6 separate regions of the Homo sapiens genome follow, and all the other regions are linked to region 1. The links are contacts of gene promoters, found by promoter capture Hi-C in blood cells and fetal thymus (Javierre and others, 2016). All regions are on one chromosome and are shown on one strand. The core of a region is centred on a gene start or on the middle of the fragment in contact, and the rest is flanking DNA. Distances in the headings are between cores, read along the strand shown. Region 1 holds the start of UNC119B (unc-119 lipid binding chaperone B). Region 2 overlaps RNF10 (ring finger protein 10). Region 3 overlaps SPPL3 (signal peptide peptidase like 3). Region 4 overlaps XLOC_009911 (a long non-coding RNA gene). Region 5 overlaps RNF10 (ring finger protein 10). Region 6 has its middle 29 kb from the start of XLOC_009911.

What was found. Contacts are between HindIII fragments. The CHiCAGO score rates a contact against its expected background, and 5 or more counts as called.
Region 2: a fragment that was not itself captured here is called in contact with the fragment with the promoter of UNC119B in region 1 in 3 of 17 cell types (M1 macrophages, M2 macrophages and megakaryocytes); the score reaches 7.1 in M1 macrophages.
Region 3: a contact is called between a fragment that was not itself captured here and the fragment with the promoter of UNC119B in region 1, in 1 of 17 cell types (endothelial precursors). The highest score is 5.8, in endothelial precursors.
Region 4: a contact is called between a fragment that was not itself captured here and the fragment with the promoter of UNC119B in region 1, in 1 of 17 cell types (endothelial precursors). The highest score is 6.0, in endothelial precursors.
Region 5: a fragment that was not itself captured here is called in contact with the fragment with the promoter of UNC119B in region 1 in 1 of 17 cell types (M1 macrophages); the score reaches 5.8 in M1 macrophages.
Region 6: a fragment that was not itself captured here is called in contact with the fragment with the promoter of UNC119B in region 1 in 1 of 17 cell types (endothelial precursors); the score reaches 6.2 in endothelial precursors.

What each region holds. Positions count from the first base shown.
Region 1 is chr12:120,708,865-120,711,931 of GRCh38, forward strand. UNC119B (unc-119 lipid binding chaperone B) reads left to right here and starts at 1,594. Exons shown (of 5, transcript NM_001080533.3): 1 at 1,594-1,854. The coding sequence starts at 1,611. It overlaps LOC124903036 (a long non-coding RNA gene), which reads right to left and starts at 1,642. Exons shown (of 2, transcript XR_007063491.1): 1 at 1,573-1,642; 2 at 1,069-1,410. RefSeq lists silencers at 1,484-1,543, 1,634-1,903 and an enhancer at 1,511-2,353. The HindIII fragment of the contact is 2,396 bases long and covers 192-2,587 here.
Region 2 is chr12:120,557,827-120,560,662 of GRCh38, forward strand. The region is part of intron 6 of RNF10 (ring finger protein 10); the gene reads left to right. Among named protein-coding and RNA genes, the nearest start is that of POP5, 22 kb to the right of the region's middle. The HindIII fragment of the contact is 5,059 bases long and covers 1-2,836 here.
Region 3 is chr12:120,879,895-120,883,061 of GRCh38, forward strand. All of the region lies in intron 1 of SPPL3 (signal peptide peptidase like 3), which reads right to left. Among named protein-coding and RNA genes, the nearest start is that of SPPL3, 23 kb to the right of the region's middle. The HindIII fragment of the contact is 2,450 bases long and covers 180-2,629 here.
Region 4 is chr12:120,907,471-120,910,772 of GRCh38, forward strand. XLOC_009911 (a long non-coding RNA gene) reads left to right here. Exons shown (of 2, transcript NR_131215.1): 2 at 185-604. Among named protein-coding and RNA genes, the nearest start is that of XLOC_009911, 4.4 kb to the left of the region's middle. RefSeq lists an enhancer at 2,576-2,695. The HindIII fragment of the contact is 3,439 bases long and covers 1-3,302 here.
Region 5 is chr12:120,536,999-120,540,261 of GRCh38, forward strand. The region is part of intron 1 of RNF10 (ring finger protein 10); the gene reads left to right. Among named protein-coding and RNA genes, the nearest start is that of RNF10, 4.3 kb to the left of the region's middle. The HindIII fragment of the contact is 1,570 bases long and covers 714-2,283 here.
Region 6 is chr12:120,931,827-120,934,982 of GRCh38, forward strand. No RefSeq gene overlaps it. Among named protein-coding and RNA genes, the nearest start is that of XLOC_009911, 29 kb to the left of the region's middle. The HindIII fragment of the contact is 1,944 bases long and covers 375-2,318 here.

The DNA of each region.
Region 1 (3,067 bases), core at 344-2,843:
ACTGCATCAATCAGGCCCAGGCCTCCAACACAGAACAGTGCAGATCTAGAATCCCTAGAGAAGGAGCCCCTCAGGGTGGAAGACGGTAGACCACATCCCCCTGTTGACCCACTTCTGGCTAATTGGTGAGGTCATGGCTAACTTCCAAAGCTCAGTGCAGATATTGCCTCTGAAAACTTCCGAAGCCCTCAAGCTTTTACAGCCAGGTCAGAATAAACCACTCCTGTGTGTTCTCCTAGCACCTTTGCTGCATCTCTTAGTGCAGTCAGTGAATCTAGTTTGTCTTCCAGTTCATACTAACCTACCTTGTGAAAAGGAAGGGTCACATAATGAATTGTGTACTTTACAGTCTTCTCTAACAAAAGTGGGAGCTCTTCCATAGTGGGATACTGTTCAGGCTCTCATTCAATCATTACTGAGCACCTACCACGTGTCAGGCATTAGCTGAACTGCTGGGAATTCAGGGGTGAGGCAGACCCAATCCCTGCCCTCACTCTTACATCTCCTGTAGCCTAGCCCAATGTCTAGCCCAGGGCCTGGCACAGTAGGGCTTACGGATGGCAATCTCATTGGAAAGTTTGTCTTGAAACTGCCTTTGCAAAACAAACACTGCTTTAACTTACCTTCTATGCTAAATATATTAATAAACATTTTCTCAAGATGCATTGTCCACTAATAGCTTAGTGTTGAAGAACAGGCCTTGGGTCAGATGGACCTGGATTAAAATCCCTGTTCCCTCCTCTTACTGCTTGAGGGACTTTGGACATGTTACCTGACTTCTCTGAACTTGAGCTTCCTGATCTGTAAAATGGAGACAGTAATACCTCACAGGGTTGTTGTGAGGTGAGGAGCCTGCCCTATAGCAAGTGTCCTGCCATATAGCAAGTGCGCAGTAAACACTGGCCATTCTTCTTCTTGGTGTGATTACTGGGAATTAGTTGCCATTGTGCTGTTGGGACTGGTGACAGAACTCTTGGATTGAGAATGCCGAGATGGTGCACGGAAGATTCTGTGTGCTCTTTCAGACCAGGAGGAGGATGAGGAGGAGGAAAGTTTATATGACGTAAATTCATTTGACCGTAAGATATGTATTTAAACATCGTGGAGGATCTTGGGGGTCTGATGGGGAGTGGGGTTGCTGAAGCTCCAGCCACCCCTAGGCCCTCCACCTGGCAGGACCAAAGTTGGGGCAGTAGCCGAAGCACCGCCCCCCGGGCCCCGCAGGAGTGTGCAGTCACCCAGTTAGGCCTATCTTGGCCTGCCCATCACTCCTGGCCTGCGGTCTCCTAACCCTGTGGCAGCAGCAGCATTCCCTGAATGGATCGAAGGCTGCCATGGTGTCGTCCGCTGAATTGCTATAGGAGTCAGCCCAGGGCTGCTCATGTGCACCTCAGGTTGCTGATGGCAGCTCTAGTTATTTGGGGATGGAAGTTTGGGGAGAGTGGGCCTTGGTCCACCCTGTGCGAAAGGGAATTCCACAGCCCCCCGGGCGCCCGCCCCCGCCCCCGCCCCGCCCCCTCCCCGCCCCTTCCCCGCCGGGCCCCGGGCCCCGCCCCCGCTCTCCATAGTTACCGCGCTGTGGAGGCGGCGGCCATCTTGGCGGCGGAGCGATGAGCGGGTCTAACCCGAAGGCTGCGGCCGCGGCGTCGGCGGCTGGGCCCGGGGGGCTGGTGGCTGGCAAGGAGGAGAAGAAGAAGGCGGGCGGCGGCGTCCTGAACCGCCTGAAGGCGCGGCGGCAGGCGCCCCACCACGCGGCCGACGACGGCGTCGGGGCAGCGGTCACGGAGCAGGAGCTGCTGGCGCTGGACACCATCCGGCCCGAGCACGTCCTGCGCCTCAGCCGGGTCACCGAGAGTGAGTGCCGCGCGGGCCGCGCCCTCCCCTCGCGCCGTGCCCCGGCTCCCGGAGCCTTCAGCGGACCCGGCCACTTGACCAGCGCGGGGGTCCCCGCCAGACCCCCTCGGCCGGCCGGGCCGCGCTTCCCGCTGCCCCGCCGGCCGGGCTTTGCTCCCGCCACGCTCACGTAGCTCTGGTGGGGAAGGACTCTCCTGGGCTGGACCGCATTCCTGTGAGTCCGGCCACGCTAGGATGCCCTTCGGCCGGTCGGCTCCCCAGCTCTGCCGGACCTGTTTGGGTAGAGGGCCCCGTTCAGCTGAACTGGATCCTCCTGAGCCGGCCGGGGGCCGAGGTCCCCTAATAAATGGGCCCCTGGGCCCTCAGCCTGGAACCCCCGGCCATCAGTGAAGTTCCCGCTCAGCCAGGCTCCCCCAGCCCTCTGGCAGGCCAGAAGCCTTACCTGCTTCCTCCGCCCTGGCCCCATGGCAGCCCTCCCCCATTGCAGCCTGCCCGGCCTCCCTCCCTCTTTGGGTCGGGAGCGTTGCCCCTTAGTGTGCAGATGGGTTCTTCCTCAAAACACATAGCCGTGGCATTTCCTGCTCATTTAAAACTGTGCCACATTAAAACAAAAATAAAGTTTCAGTTTGTGTACAGACTCCGACATGTGAATCCTGCTTTTGACATTCTCGTGAATTAAGAATGATTTCAGAGTTTCAGAAATGCGTTTCCTGCACAAAAGGCAACCATCCTAAGCTTTTTCGTTGATAGGAGGATGGGTGGGAAGAAAAATGTTGCCCAGTCCCTGCCCTGGGTGATCTCCCTTTTTCTGTTCTCTGCCAAGCCAGTCCCTGACTTGACGTCTTTTCTCTTGCTGCTGTTTTCCCTGCAGGAGTGTGCACTCACCTAGTTAGGCCTATCTTGGCCTGCCCATCACTCCTGGCGTGCAGTCTCCTAACCCTGTGGCAGCAGCAACATTCCCTGGATGGATCGAAGGCTGCCATGGTGTCTGCTGAGCTGCTATAGCAGGCAGCCCAGGGCTGTTCAGGTGCACCTCAGGTTGCCGATTGCAGCTCTAGTAATTTGGGGATGGAAATTTGGGGGGAGTAGGCCTTGGTCCACCCTGTGCGAAAGGGAATTCCCATTTCCTAAAAGAGTTTTAATTTGATTCTAGATATTTGGATGCCCCCGTTTCCCAATACTGTTTGGGTTGAGACTGTCCTTACCAGACCTG
Region 2 (2,836 bases), core at 10-2,509, 150 kb before region 1:
TGGGGTTTGTAGAGAGTAGATTAATTATTGGTTTCAAGTTTGTTTAATCTATACATCCTAATTTTTCATTTTACAAGGTTTTATTACATAGTGTCTTTCACTGTGCCCAATCTTAGAGGTTCTGTGGTCAGCCAGTCTTGGTGCCTGTCGTCAAGAAACTCAGTAGTCCGATAGAAGAGACAGACTGGTAGACTGGCCATTAGGATAAAGAGTGTGATAAGTGCTCACAATGAATGCCAGAGATGTATTCCCTGTGTTTCATGCAGAAATGAGCATTTGATTAAAATAGCATTTCAGTCTCTGGGGAAAAGATAGATTTCTCAATAAATGGTATTGAAACAATTGATTCTCCCTAAGGAAAAAATAAAATTAGATTCCTATTTCATACCATTCATGAAATTAATTCCAGATAGATTGAAGAAGTAAATGTAAAAAATCCAAAAGTTTTAACCTTTTTATTTAAAAGAAAATATAGGACAATTTCTTTATAAATCCTCAGATGTGCATCTGTCTGAAGGATTGTGTGTTCTCATTTGGGTGGTAAATGTGTGTGTGTAATATTTTTTTCCTAGTGATTTTGACTGTTTAAATGTTTAGCAACTTAAAACATTAAAAATGTGTATTAATTAAAAAAAAATCCTCAGATATGGGTGGATTTTTGAACCAGGCTGAAATGATAGATGCTGTAAAAGACTGATAAATTTTATTTTTATTTTATTTATAGATATATAATATAATATGTATATATATATTTTTTTTTGAGACAGAGTCTGGCTCTGTCACCCAGGCTGGAGTGCAGTGGCATGATCTTGGCTCACTGCAACCTCTGCCTCCCGGGTTTGAGCGATTCTCGTGCCTCAGCCTCCCGAGTAGCTGGGACTACAGGCGCCCGCCACCATGCCTGGCTGATTTTTTTTGTATTTTTAGTAGAGACGGGGTTTCACCATGTTGGCAGGCTAGTCTCGAACTCCCGAGCTCAAGTGATCTGCCCGCCTTACCTCCCAAAGTGCTGGGATTACAGGCGTGAGCCACTGTGACCGGCCAAGAAAACCACTTTTAGTGTCCACAGAATTTTCGTTAATGAACATACCATCATGTCATTAACCCTTTATTTGAGATGGAATCTCACTTTGTCGCCTGGGCTGGAGTGCAGTGGCAATAATTACTTTTAATTAATTAAATTCATTAAAATAATTAAAATTAATTTAATTAATTAAATTAACTTTTAATTTTAAATTATTTTTTTTATTTTAAAAAATTAACTGGGCATGCAGGTATAGTTAATTTTTTATTTTTATTTTTAGCAGAGATGAGGTCTTGCTATGTTGATAGGCTGGTCTTGAACTACTCTTTTTTTTTTTTTTTTTTTTTTTGAGACGGAGTCTTGCTGTGTTTCCCAGGCTGGAGTGCAATGGTGTGATCTCGGCTCACTGCAACCTCCACCTCCTCGGTTCAAACGATTTTCCTTCCTCAGCTTCCTGAGTAGCTGGCATTTCAGGCACCTGCCACCACGCCCGGCTAATTTTTGTTTTTTTTGTGTGTGTGTGTTGTGCTTTTTTTGTTTTTGTTTTTGTTTTGAGATGGAGTCTCACTCTGTTGCCAGGCTGGAATGCAGTGGTGCAATCCCGGCTCACTGCAATCTCCGCCTCCCAGGTTCAAGAGATTCTCCTGCCTCAGCGTCCTGAGTAGCTGAGATTACAGGCACGCACCACCACACCTGGCTAGTTTTTGTATTTTTAGTAGAGACGGGGTTTCACCATGTTGGCCAGCATGGTCTCAATCTCTTGATCTTGTGATCCGCCTACCTCAGCCTCCCAAAGTGCTGGGATTACAGGTGTGAGCCACCGTACTCCGCCTGGTGTTATTTTTTTTTAATTTTATTTTTTGAGGCAGAGTTTTGCACTTGTTGCCCAGGCTGGAGTGCAATGGTGCGATCTTGGCTCACTGAAACCTCTGCCTCCTGGGTTCAAGCGATTTTCTTACTCCAGCCTCCCTAGTAGCTGGGATTATAGGCGCCCGTCACCACGCCCAGCTAATTTTTTGTATTTTTAATAGAAACAGGGTATCTCTATGTTGGCCAGGCTGGTTTCGAACTCCTAACTTCAGGTGATCCACCTGCCTCAGCCTCCCAAAGTGCTGAACGTGAGCCACCACACCCAGCTGGCTTGGTCTTAAACTTCTAAACTCAAGCAATCTTCCTGTCTTGGCCTCTCAAAGTACTGGGATTATAGGTGTGAGCCACTGCGCTGGTCCACCATTTCTTTATTCTTTATTGTTGGTTTTACTGGTTGGTTTGAGCTTTTCTTTTTCTGTGTGTGGTTTTTTTTGTTTTTTTTTTTTTTGAGACAGAGTTTCGCTTTTGTTGCCCAAGCTGGAATGCAGTGGCATGATCTTGGCTCACTGCGACCTCTGCCTCCTGGGTTCAAGCGATTCTCCTGCCTCAGCCTCCCAAGTAGCTGGGATTACAGGCATGCCCTACCAGGCCCGACTAACTTTTTTGTATCTTTAGTAGAGACGGGGTTTCACCATGTTGGTCAGGCTGGTCTCGAACTCTTGATCTCAAGTGATCCACCCGCCTTGACCTCCCAAAGTGCTGGGATTACAGGTGTGAGCCATGGTGCCTGGCTGGTTTGAGCTTTTCTGATATTACATACAATGCTGTAACAATAAACGCGTGACTAAAGTTTTGACTACATCTCTGGGTTTCTTAGATTTCTTATATCAAGAGCAGAGCTACAGACCTTATTTTAAGACCATTGTTAAATTATTTTCTAGGAAATCATGCTAAATTACCCCATTTTCACCCCAGAGAAAAGGCTGTATTTGAAAATTCCTA
Region 3 (3,167 bases), core at 155-2,654, 170 kb after region 1:
TTTTCAATAAAGTTGCAATCTGCCCTAAAAGCAGAAGTTGGTGATACTTGGAATTCCCATACTCCACCTCTGTTCCCTGCTTTTATCTTTTTTTTTTTTTCACTTTTCATTCCTCGGTTTAACAATCCTACTTGATTTTCTTTTAATTTTAACTGTTAGTGAAGGGAGCCATGTTCAAAAGCTTTCCTACATATTGACTCACACCACTCAACAGGCTACTGGAGGACAGGATGAAAAAAAAACACTGGGGCTGAGACACATTATTGAGTGAAAAAAGCCAGATAACGAATCTCAGCGTATATGGTACACTACTATCCTATTAAAAATGAATTACACAAAAGAATGAAGTTGGACCTTTACTATTATACAAAAATAGTCTCAAAAATGGATCAAAAACATACAAATAAGAGCTAAAACTAAAAACCCTTAGAAGAAAAAAGAGAAGGGCTTCATGACATTGGATTTGGCAGATTTCATGGATGTGACACCAGAGAACACACAACAAAAGACAGAAAAATTGAACCTTATCAAAAGTAAAAACTTGTGCACCAAAGGCCACTATTAACAAAATCAAAAGACAACCTACATAATGGGAGAAATTATTTGCAAATCGGCCGGGTGTGGTAGCTCATACCTGTAATCCCAGCACTTTGGGAGGCTGAAGTGTGCAGATCATGAGGTCAGGAGATGGAGACCATCCTGGCTAACACGGTGAAACCCATCTCTACTAAAAATACAAAAAATTAGCTGAGCATGGTGGCACGTGCCTCCAGTCCCAGCTACTCGGGAGGCTGAGGCAGGAGAATCGCTTGAACCCGGAAGGCAGAGGTTGCAGTGAGCCGAGATCACACCACTGCACTCTAGCCTGGGCGACAGAGAGAGACTCCGTCTCGGGGGAAAAAAAAATTATTTGCAAATCATATAACTGATAAGGGATTGATATCCAGAATATACTAATAACTACAGCTCAACAACAATCAACCCAGCCAAAAAAAAAAATGGACAAAGGACGTGAATAAACACTACTCCAAAGATACACAAATGGTCAATAAACGTGAACAGATGCTCAGCATCACTAATCACTAGAGAAATATAAATCAAAATCACAATGAGATACCACTTCATACCCATTAGGATGGCTATTGAAAGAAAACACACACACACACAAAATTCAACTAGTGTTGGCAAGGATGTGGAAAAACTGAAACCCTTATACATTGCTGGTGGGAATGTAAAATTTGGCAGTCACTATGGAAAATGGTAATGGTGGATCCTCAAAAAATTAAAATGTTGCCCAGGTGCGGTGGCTCCCGCCTGTAATCCCAGCACTTTGGGAGGCCGAGGCGGGAGGATCATCTGAGGTCAGGAATTCAAGACTAGCCTAACCAACATGGTGAAACCCTGTTGCTACTAAAAATACAAAAATTAGCTGGGCGTGTTGGTGTGTGCCTGTAATCCCAGCTACTTGGGAGGCTGAGGCAGGAGAATCACTTGAACCAGGAGGCAGAGGTTGCAGTGAGCCAAGACAGCGCCACAGAACTCCAGCCTGGGCAAAAGAGTGAGACTGCCTCAAAAAAAAAAAAAAAAAAAGAGAAGAGAAGAGAAGGAAAAAAATTAAATGTTGAATTGCCATACGAGATTGAGCAATCCCACTTCTAGGTTTATATCCAAAAGAACTGAAAGCAGGGTCTCGAACAGATATTTGTACACCAATATTCATTGTATTACTCATAGTAACTAAAAGGTGGAAGCAACTACTGCCCATCAACAAATGAACAGATACACAAAATGTGGTCTTACCCATACAGTCAAGTATTATCCAGCCTTTAAAAGGAAGAAAATTCTGACACACGCTAAATATAGATGAAGCTCGGGGGGCATTACTCTAAGTGAAAAAGCCAATAACAAAAAAAAAAAGAAACAAAATATTGTTAGATTCCATTTATATGAGGTACCTAGCATAGTCAAATTCACAGAGACAGAAAGGAGAACAAAGGTTGCCAGGGTGTGGGGAGAGAGGGGAATGAGGAGTTAAAAGTTTAATGGGTACAGTAGTTCCGATTAAACTTATCTATGGTTTCACCTTCCATGCAGTCAACCGTGGTCTGAAAATATTAAATGGAAATTTCCAGAAAAAAGTCGTAAGTTTTAAAGTGTGGACCATTCTGAGTAGTATGATGAAGTCTCATGCCATCCTGCTCCCTCCTGCCTGGGATGTCACTCATCCCTCTGTCTACCATCTTCATGCTATATACATACACTACCCCTACCCACCAGTTTGACATTTGATAACCATCTTGGTTATCAGATTGAATAAACAGTATATACAGGGTTCAGTACTATCGGCAGTTTCAAGGTATCCACTGGGAGTCTTGGGATGTGGATAAGAGGGGACTACTGTATACAGTGTCAATCTGGGAAGATTAAAAAGTTCTGGAAATGGATGGTGGTGAAGGTTGCACAATAATGTGCATGTACTTAATGCCACTGAGTTCAGTGACACTTAAAATGGTCAATTTTATGCTATGTGTATTTTACTGCAATATAACAGGGGTACTGCATAGGACTTTGTATACACATGTGTTTTCATGCACACATTTCTAGAAAGATAGAAAGAAAACTGGTTATAAGCTTTCTTGAGACAGGGCAACTGGAAGATCAGGAATAAAAGTGATATAATAAAAACTAGAGAGATTGAATACAGTGGTCTCCTATGTATCCACAAAAACTGATTATATATTAAATGGTATCAAAAGACATTCAAGATATATTTAATTTTAAAAAGCATATAACAAAACACTATTTACCATTTTAACATTACTTTCATAAACACACATACAAAAACAATCTCCACCTGGGCACAGTGGCTTATATCTGTAAACCCAGTGCTGTGGGAAGCCAAGGCGAAAGATTGCTTGAGGCTAGGAGTTCAAGGTTACAGTTAACTATGATGGCACCACTGCACTCCAGCCTGGGCAACAGAGCTAGACCCTGGCTTTTTAAAACCAATCACAGAGGTAATGCTAGAGATCGTTGAGGAAAGCAGGGACTATTTTATCAACATATAGTTCTGGGACAATTGGATTCCTAACTAATCCATACACAGATATATAAAACTTAATTCTAGAGGCCGGGCGTGGTGGCTCACAACTGTAATCCCAGCACTT
Region 4 (3,302 bases), core at 343-2,842, 200 kb after region 1:
CAAGTGGAAAGTTGGTGTTGGATGAATGAAACGGGAGCTGCTAGAGTAGGAAAGTCAAGGCCTTCCCAGAAGCAAAGGGACCATTCTTTTCAGTGGGAAAAATCTGGTGGAAGAAAGGAGGGAGAAGGGGTTTGGTGAAGGTATGGTGAATGAGGAGAGGTTTTCTTCTCTCTATCTGAACCAGAGACCTCCGAAGTGTTTCTTGAGGAAATGTGGCTGCAGACCCTAGAAGAAGCTACACAGCACTTGCCAGGGCTGGGATGATGTCCAGGCCATGGAAACACCGTGTACCTGGTCCCAGGAAGATGAAGTGTGGGCCCAGAGACTAATGGCTTGAGCATCTCAGGCTAAGGTTGCCGAGAAGTAGACAGCACCTCTAGATCCTAGTCAACATCTCTACAGGCTTGAAGTCTCCCCAGAGGGCAAGGTTGGAATAAATCTGAAGCCTGTGGCTTGCCTGGGAGCTGCCCAGACTGTGGCATCTGGGGAGTGACTTTTTAATTTTAATTTTATTTTGAGACAGAGTCTTGCTCTGTCACACGGCTGGAGTGCAGTGGCGCAATCTCAGCTCACTGAAACCTCCACCTCCTGGGTTCAAGCCATTCTACTGACTCAGCCTCCCAAGCAGCTCGGATTACAGGCACCCACCACCATGCCCAGCTATTTTTCGTATTTTTAGTAGAGACGGGGTTTCACCATGTTGGCCAGGATGGTCTCGAACTCCTGAGCTCAGGCAATCTGCCCACCTTGGTCTCCCAAAGTGCTAGGATTATAGGCGTCAGCCACCGCACCCGACTGGGAGTGACTTTTAGTCTCCCTGCCAGCAGCACTCAGCTCCAAGCTATAGCAGCCCCAGGTGTATCTGTGACACCTTTGGGCCTCAGCCAGGGAGTCAGGTGTGCTTCACAAGAGACTCAGGCATTAGGCTCCCCCAGGAGGGGTGCTTTGTCTCTCTGCACCCCACTGCAGGTGAGAGCGCTACAGCTTGTGCAATATTTGCTGAAAGAAGCCATGGAGGCTGGGTGCGGTGGCTCATGCCTGTAATCCCAGCACACTGGGAGGCCTAGGCGGGCAGATCACCTGAGGTCGGGAGTTCAAGACCAGCCTGGCCAACATGGAGAAACCCCATCCCTACTAAAAATACAAAAATTAGCCGGGTGGTAGTGGCACATGCCTGCAATCCCAGCTACTCGGGAGGCTGAGGCAGGAGAATCGCTTGAACCCGGGAGGCGGAGGTTGCGGTGAGCCGAGATCGTGCCACTGCACTCCAGCCTGAGCAACAAGAGCGAAACTCCGAAACGCCGTCTCAAAAAAAAAAAAAGAAAGAAAGAGGCCATGCAGGTGCCTCTAATTATCACCACAGTAATTATAGGATAGCTTCTTCCACCAAGTGTGTTCAAAAGAGACTTGGGGAGTCTCCCCCAGGATGGGTCCTCTGCTTTAGGCACAGACTCCAGGAAGCTGGCATTACAAGGTCTGTCTGGGCTGCTTAAGCATTGTTTCTGAGAACATCAAGGCTTAGGTCTGACCTGGCTCTACCAGTCCCTCCAGGCCATTTCTCCCCTCTGTCATCCACCCCTCGCCCCCACACACATGCATGTGCACTTTGTTTATATTCCATAGTGACCTGCTTGTAGCTTCCCCACGGGCTGTGTTCTTTTTTGCTTCCAATCCTCTGATCAAGTCCAGGAGGTTTCCCATTGGGTCTTTCTTTTTTTTTTTTTTTTTAGACAAAGTATCACTCTGTCGCCGAGGCTGGTGTGCAGTGGCGCCATCTCAGCTCACTGCAACTTTCGCCTCCTGGGTTCAAGTGATTCTCCTGCTTCAGCCTCCCGAGTAGCTGGGATTACAGTTGCCCACCACTACCATGCCCAGCTAATTTTTTTTTGTATTTTTAGTGGAGACGACTTTGGCCATGTTGGCCAGGCTGGTCTCAAACTCCTGATCTCAAGTGATCCACCCATCTTTGCCTCCCAAAGCGCTGGAATTACAGGTGTGGGCCGCAGCGCCCGGCCTCCCATTGCCTCTTAACTGCTGCTTATAGTTTTCGGGGCTTGACTGCAATGTCACATCCTCCAGGAAATCTCACTTGACCAAAACCTAGGCTGGGTTAGATACTTCTCTGCATTCTCATTGTCCTCTGAATTTACCCACATGACACTTGGCATAATGAACTGTCATCGACTGTTTACTTGTCAGTTTCTCCCTTAGCTTGTGAATGCTTCTTGGGAAGGGATTGTAACTGGCTGCCAGTTATATCCTGTGTGCCCAGCAGAGAGATTAGCCCAGAATAGAAGCTCAGTGTCTGTAGAATGAATGTTTGAGTGAAGGGGAAGGCAAGCCAGGATCCAGAACAACTTGTTTTGCCTGATGTCATACTCAACACCCACTTCTGTCCTCTGTAACTCCCTCCTTGACTAAGAGTGAGAGTTCTTAAGGGGAGAGAGATACGGGAAGACAGATCAGAAGTAAGGTATATGGTGAGCTTATCAGACACAGGGTCACTTGCATTCTTTGAACATGGGTTTTCAGAAAACGTTTTTTAGAGAAGTTTCAGGCTTACAGAAAAATTGATGGGAAAGTACAGAGAGTTCCCATATAGGCCTCTCCCTCCAGTAAATCTCCCCTATTAATCACATGGTATATTAGTGTAAGTACATTTGTTACAGTTGATGAGCCAATAATGAGATTAGGTTTTACTCTTCATGTTGTATAGTCTACGGGCTTTGACAAATACACTATGGTATGTAACCACCATTATAATGTCATACGGAATAGTTTCACAGCCCCAGAAATCTCCCACCCTCTGCCTATTCATCCCTCCCTCCCCATCAAATTCTGGCAACCACGGATCTTTTTACTGTCTGCATAGTTTTGCCTATTCCAGAATGTCCTATCATTGGAATCATACAGCGTGTAGCCTTTTCAGGCTGGCTTTTCACGTAGCAGTATACTTTTGATATTTTTCCATGTCTTTTCGTGGCTTGATAGCTCATTTCTTTTTATTGCTGAATAATATTCCATTGTATGAATGTACCAGAGTTCGTTTATCCCTTCACCTATTGAAGGACACTTTGGTTGCTTCCAACTTTTGGCAAGTATGAATAAAGCAGCTCTCAAGGTTTGTGTGCAGGTTTCATGTGGACATGTTTTCAATTTATTTGGGTATACCATGGATACTATGTATTTTTTGGAAGAATCTTGTTTAATTTCCAAATACTTGGGGCTTTCCTGGATATCTTCTTTGTTGTTGATGTTAATTGAATTCTGTTGTGGTCAGAGAATATATTCTGTAAGATTTC
Region 5 (3,263 bases), core at 249-2,748, 170 kb before region 1:
ATGATACAGAATTCTATAGTAGTTTGACCAAAGCAAGTATTTGTCATTGTTAACATTTCAAATGGGCTGGGTGGCTATAATCCCAGCACTTTGGGAGGCTGAGGCAGGCCGATTACTTGAGCCCAGGAGTTCGAGACCCTGTCCTACAAAAAAATAAATGAGCCGGGCGTGGTGGCACGCACCTGTAGTCCCAGCTGTGAAGAGGCTGAGGCAGGGGAGGAGGAAGAGCACTTAAACCCAGAAGTTCGAGGTTGCAGTGAGCCACGATCACTCCACTGCACTCTAGCCTGGGTGGCAGAGTGAGACCCCGTCTCAAAACAAGAAAACTTCTGTAAAAACTCATGTAGGCCGGGTGCGGTGGCTCACGCCTGTAATCCCAGCACTTTGGGAGGCCGAGGCAGGTGGATCATCTGAGTTCAGGAGTTTGAGACCAGCCTGGCCAACATGGTGAAGCCCCGTCTCTACTAAAAGTACAAAAAATTAGTCCGGCGTGGTGGTGCGCACCTGTAATCCCAGCTACTCGGGGGGCTGAGGCAGGAGAATCCCTTGAAACCGGGAGGCGGAGGTTGCAGTAAGCCAAGATTGCACCATTGCACTCCAGCCCGTCTAAAAAAACAAAAACTCATGTAAAGGCCCTTTGTTAGATTTTACAAATAACACATATGTGCCTTGAGGCAGCATTCTTTTTTTTTTGTTTAATGTGTGTGTTAGAAAGCTTGACCATGTTTGCCACCGCCAGTGTCTGCTTTTCTGGCTTCTGCTGTGCGTGTTCGTTTAGCAAGGAAGGATGGGCTTTGTAGCCAAATCCATGCTTCTTCACTAGCCATAATCCACTGCTTGCATTTAGGAACAAATTAAAAGGCAGGATATGTGGAGATTAAAAGGTTAGGAAACTGGATATTGGCTGATTTTTAAAGTTGAAACTAAGCTGCCTTAGGAACGTAACAGCTAAGACCAGTGCTACTACAGCAGATACTCAGGAGCTCTGATGCAGTGACTTCACGATGAGATGGTTGCTCTAACAAAAGGGTACACTCAAGCTCCGCATAATCCCATAAAAAGATTTCTGCAGTATCTCATAAGCTGAACACTTCATATACTTGATTCTGCTGGGAATCATTGAAAGGACCTCTTGAATTACAGAGTACTGAGTTGAGGGGAAAACAAGCGTAAGGTGAAAAGATAGTTTATCTTTTGTCAAGGTGAAAAGAGCAAGAGTTTTCAGTATTCAAATATTTAAGTCACTTTTTTTCTCCCCCTTTTCTACCTCGTGGAAGAAAGCCCTTTGGTTTCTATTCTGTAAACTGTCATTAATGGCCATTTGCTTCCTAGCTACATGATTAATTTCTTTGAGATTTTGTTCCAGTGGCTGGCTTAAATTTGCCCTTCATTTGTACACAGGAAATATGTAAATTTGGCTACCAGGATTTTCTTGATCTTTCCGGCTAGAGTCGCATACCACAGTTTCTTTGCCTGGGCTAATTGCCTGAACATTTATATAACATTCCTTTTCTTGATTATATTCCTACAGCTTCATTCCAGTAGTGTTAATAGGTATTTCTGAGAACATGCAGCAGTAAATATCCTGTGAATATAGCTCAGAGGAGAGAAGGTGGGTTAGAAAGTGGGGAAAGTCATTTAGAGGGAGCAAAGAAAGAGAGGCAAGAGAGAAGGTAGGCCGTTTATGGGCAGGCAGTGGACTCTGGCCAGGAACCAGGCTCTTGTCCCATCCCCCTGGGCCGATAGAACTGCCAGGGAGGTTAAGGGAAGGTCAGGTATTATGAGGCAGTTATTTTGAGGTTGGTGGTATGAAGCACTGCCCTGGCATTCTTCCTGTTATTCTGGTACCAGAAACCAGGTTACTAGTGGTAATCTGCCTTGAAGAATGCCTCTGAGCTGTAAATGGACCTGGAGATTTTAATGGCTTTGAAAATTGAGGTGATTTGAAGCCTTCAGTAAAACCACTTAGAGAAATTAAAAGAATTTCAGGGCCCGTTGGCTGGATTCCTTGGTTTATATGGCTTCATTGGAAGTCTAGTGGGTGCTCTTGACAGGAACGCTTTGGATTTATTAATGATAGGCTTTCAAATCATAGTAAAACTGTGTGTCAGCCACTATGGTAGGCATTTTACAGAAGTTTTCTTTCTTAATCCTCATGATTCTATGAGGAAGTATGGTAGAATATTAGTCCTGTTTCACAGAAAAGAAAATAGAGGCTTAGCAGTGTTAAGAGTGATTTGTCCAAGTAAATTTTTATGAAGTCCTAGGCGGTATTTTTCAATAAGCTTTGTATAATCACACTTAGCAAGCAGATAACTTACTGGCATGTGCATCATTCCTGATACCACCTCTCTCTTCCTTTCATTCAGAATTACTAATTTCAGCTGGATTCAATTTGTTGTCAGTTGATTCTGTAGTAAGGCCATATGTTGCCCCTCTGGAGGTGCTTGTCAACTACTCTGGATGATGGGTAAGCAACTTGCTTGTGATTACAGCATGAATCAGCAGCAGAAACTTGCTGACTGGTATTCTGACCTCTAGGCCGAGCCACCTGTTAGAACTAGAGCTAGAAATGAAGATGCCAAGTAATTTAACTGTGAAAAACTTGTGGCCCTTAATTTGGTAATGGGGGGAGGCTGAGATATACCTACTGCTACTTGGTGGAGACCTTTCCATTAGGGAAATGTGGAACAACTGAGAAGCTGGGTTAAGTTTTTAAGTCATTTATTTGTCGACTCTGGAGCCTGAGTTTAGTGGTCTTGTCCATTTTGGAATGTGTCTTGACAGTAGTTCTTGGCAGTTGTTCTCAGTGGTGGCTGTGCATCAGAATCTCCTCAGGAACTTTTTTTTTTCCCTCAAGACAGTCTTGCTCTGTCACCCAGGCTGGAGTTCAGTGGCGCGATCTCAGCTCACTTTAACCTCTGCCTTCCCGGTTTAAGCAATTCTTCTGCCTCAGCCTCCTGAGTAGCTGGATTGCAGGTGTCCACCACCACACCGGCCTAATTTTTGTATTTTTAGTAGAGATGGGTTTCGCCATGTTGGCCAGGCTGGTCTCAAACTCCTGACCTCATGAGGAACTTAAAAAAAAAAAAAATAGGGGTGTGTGGGGCCCCTTCCTAGGAATTTATTATCTTTTTTTTTTTTGTAGAGATGGGGGTCTCACCATGTTGCCCAGGCTGGTCTCAAATTCCTGGCTTCAAATGATCCTCCCACCTTAGCCTCCCAAAGTGCTGGGGTTACAGGCATAAGCCACTGTGCCTGGC
Region 6 (3,156 bases), core at 97-2,596, 220 kb after region 1:
GAGTGCAGTGGTGCGATCTCGGCTCACTGCAAGCTCCGCCTCCCGGGTTCACGCCATTCTCCAGCCTCAGCCGCCCGAGTAGCTGGGACTACAGGCGCCCGCCACCACACCTGGCTAATTTTTTGTATGTTTAGTAGAGATGGGGTTTCACCATGTTAGCCAGGATGGTCTCGATCTCCTGACCTCGTGATCCGCCTGCCTCAGCCTCCCAAAGTGCTGGGATTACAGGCGTGAGCCACCACATCCACCCTAGATATTTAATCGAAATGATCCAGCTTGGTGAGGGCAAGTATCTGACCCTCTTGTCTTTCAATATCGGAATAAAGAAACTGAGCCTCAGAGCAGGCTCATGACTTGCCCAACGTCACACAGAAAGCTTGTGGTCAAGCCACATGTCAAATCCAGACCTCCTGACTCTGGTTTTCTAATCGAACTGTAAAGTGCTTCAGGACTCATGAGAAGGGAGAGGAATGTGAGGCATGGCGACCAGGAATGAGGCACCTTGGTGGAAGTGGAGGGTGGAAGATGGAGGAACATCCTAAAGGATGGCTAAAGCTGGGAGAGAACACAGGGGAGAAATGAAAATAAAACAATGCTATAAAGGGGCTGGCGTGGTGGCTCACGCCTGTAATCCCAGCACTTTGGGAAGCCGAAGAGGGCAGATTGCCTGGACTGAGGAGTTCAAGGCCAGCCTGGGCAACGTGATGAAAACCTTCCTCTACTAAAAACACAAAAAATTAGGCCAGGCTCGGTCGCTCACGCCTGTAATCCCAGCACCTTGGGAGGCCGAGGTGGGCGGATCACCTGAGGTCGGGAGTTTGAGACCAGCCTGACCAACATGGAGAAACCCCATCTCTACTAAAAAAATACAAAATTAGCTGGGCATGGTGGCACATGCCTGTAATCCCAGCTACTTGGGAGGCTGAGGCAGGAGAATCGCTTGAACCCAGGAGGCAGAGCTTTCGGTGAGCCGAGGTGGTGCCATTGCACTCCAGCCTGGGCAACAAGAGCGAAACTCCACCTCAAAAAAAAAAAAAAAAAAAAAATTAGCCGGGCGTGGTGGCAGCATGCAGCTGTAGTCCAAACTACTCGGGAGGCTGAGGCATAAGAATTGCTTTAACCTGGGAAGTGGAGATTGCAGTGAGCAGAGATCATGCCACTGCACTCCAGCCTAGGCAACAGAGCAAGATTGTCTCAAAAAAAAAAAAAAAAAAAGGGTGCAACGGAAGTGAAGTCACAGAGGAGAAAATGCTGTCCTAACTTAGGGCTGGACAGTTCTTTTTAGAGCTGGGGTTGACCGGGCAGGGTCAGGTTTATGAGAGGACACTGAAGCCACGCGTAGAAGAGGCGTGTGGACTCTGCCAGCTGTCAGCACACCGGGCTGTCACGATGCACTCAGGTTCCAATAATGTGCTGAGAATGCAGGAAAGGCAGCTCAGGGCTTTATAGACTCGCTGCCCCCAGTCCATCCAGAGGCCCAGAGAGGCCAAGCTACTCACCCAAGGACACACAGGCCTTGAAATCTGATACTTTCTGAATCCCAGCACTGCATGGCCTTTGCGTTCTGTGAGTGGCTCACACTGGGGAGCTGGTGACACCCTGACATGGGCTCCATACTTGCTGCTCCTTCTGCTTTTCTTCCAGTGGCACACTTGAGGGATGCAGGGACTCACATAGGACCAATTCCTGCCCCACTGTGTCCCCTAAGTAACCCACATCCAAAATATATCCCGAATTCAGCCATTTTCCTTCTTAGGTCAATTCATTCCTTCTCTCTCTCTCTTTCTCTCTCTCTCCTCTGTCAGAGAGACAGGGTCTTGCTCTGTCACCCAGGCTGGAGTGCAGTGATGTGGTACAATCATAGCTCACTGCAGCCTTGAATTTCTGAGCTCAAGCAATCCTCTTGCCTCAGCCTCCCAACTAGTTGAACTACAGGCATGTGCCACTGCATCCAGCCAAGTTTTTTTTGTTTTTGTTTTTAGTAGAGACAAAGTCTCGTCATGTTGCCCAGGCTGGTCTCAAACCCCTGGGGTCAAGCAATCCTCCTGCCTTGGCCTCCCAAAGTGCTGGGATTACAGGCTTGAGCCATGGCGCTGCCACCGCCTACTCCTCCTCCTCCTCCTCCTCTTCCTCTTCTTCTTCCTCTTCTTTTTTTTTTTTTTTGAGTTGTACAAGAAAATGAGAGGCCAAAGGCCCGTGATTTACAGGCAGCCTGGTGGAGGAGAAGTGGTGTGTAGTGCTGTTACATGGTCTCTAGGGCCATATACTCCGGTTTGAGTTTCTAGTTCTTTGACTATATGACTGTGGCTAAGCAATGAAGCTTTCTAGACCTGCGTTCTCATTCATTAAATAGGAATGATAACACCTCATAAGTATCTAAATGAGATACTGTAGGTAAGTGTACATCATAGAATTTTAAATCTGGTAAGTGTGTGGTAGGCTGAATAATAACCCCTAAAAGATGTCCAGGTCCTGCCGGGAGCAGGCTCACACCTGTAATCCCAGCACTTTGGGAAGCCAAGGTGGCGGGATCACCTGAGGTTGGGAGTTCAAGACCAGCCTGACCAACATGGAGAAACCCCCTCTCTACTAAAAATACAAAATCAGCTGGCCGTGGTGGCACATGCCTGTAATCCCAGCTACTCAGGAAGCTGAGGCAGGAGAATTTCTTGAACCCGTGAGGTGGAGGTTGCGTTGAGCCAAGATCGCGCCATTGCACTCCAGCCTGCGCAACAAGAGCAAAACTCTGTCTCAAAAAAAAAAAAAAGATGTCCATGTCCTAATCTCTAGAACTCTAGAACCTATGATTATAGGAAAGGAGACTTTGTAGATGCATCAAATTAATATTTTTGAGATGAGGAGATTATCCTGGATTATCTAGCCCAATATAATCACACAGGTCCTTGGAAGAGGTGGGCACACCAGAGTGAGCGGTAGCAGATTTGACGATGGAAACAAGAGGTTGTAGTGATCGATGAAGGGAATGTGAGCCAAGGAATGCAGGTGGTCCTCTAGAAGATGAAAAAGGCAAGGACACATTCTTCCCTCAGAGCCCTCACAGGGAACTAGCCCTATAAAACCGATGTCAGATTCATGACCTCCGCAACTATGAGAATAAGCTTGTGTAAAGTCAATATTTGTGGTAATTTCTACAGC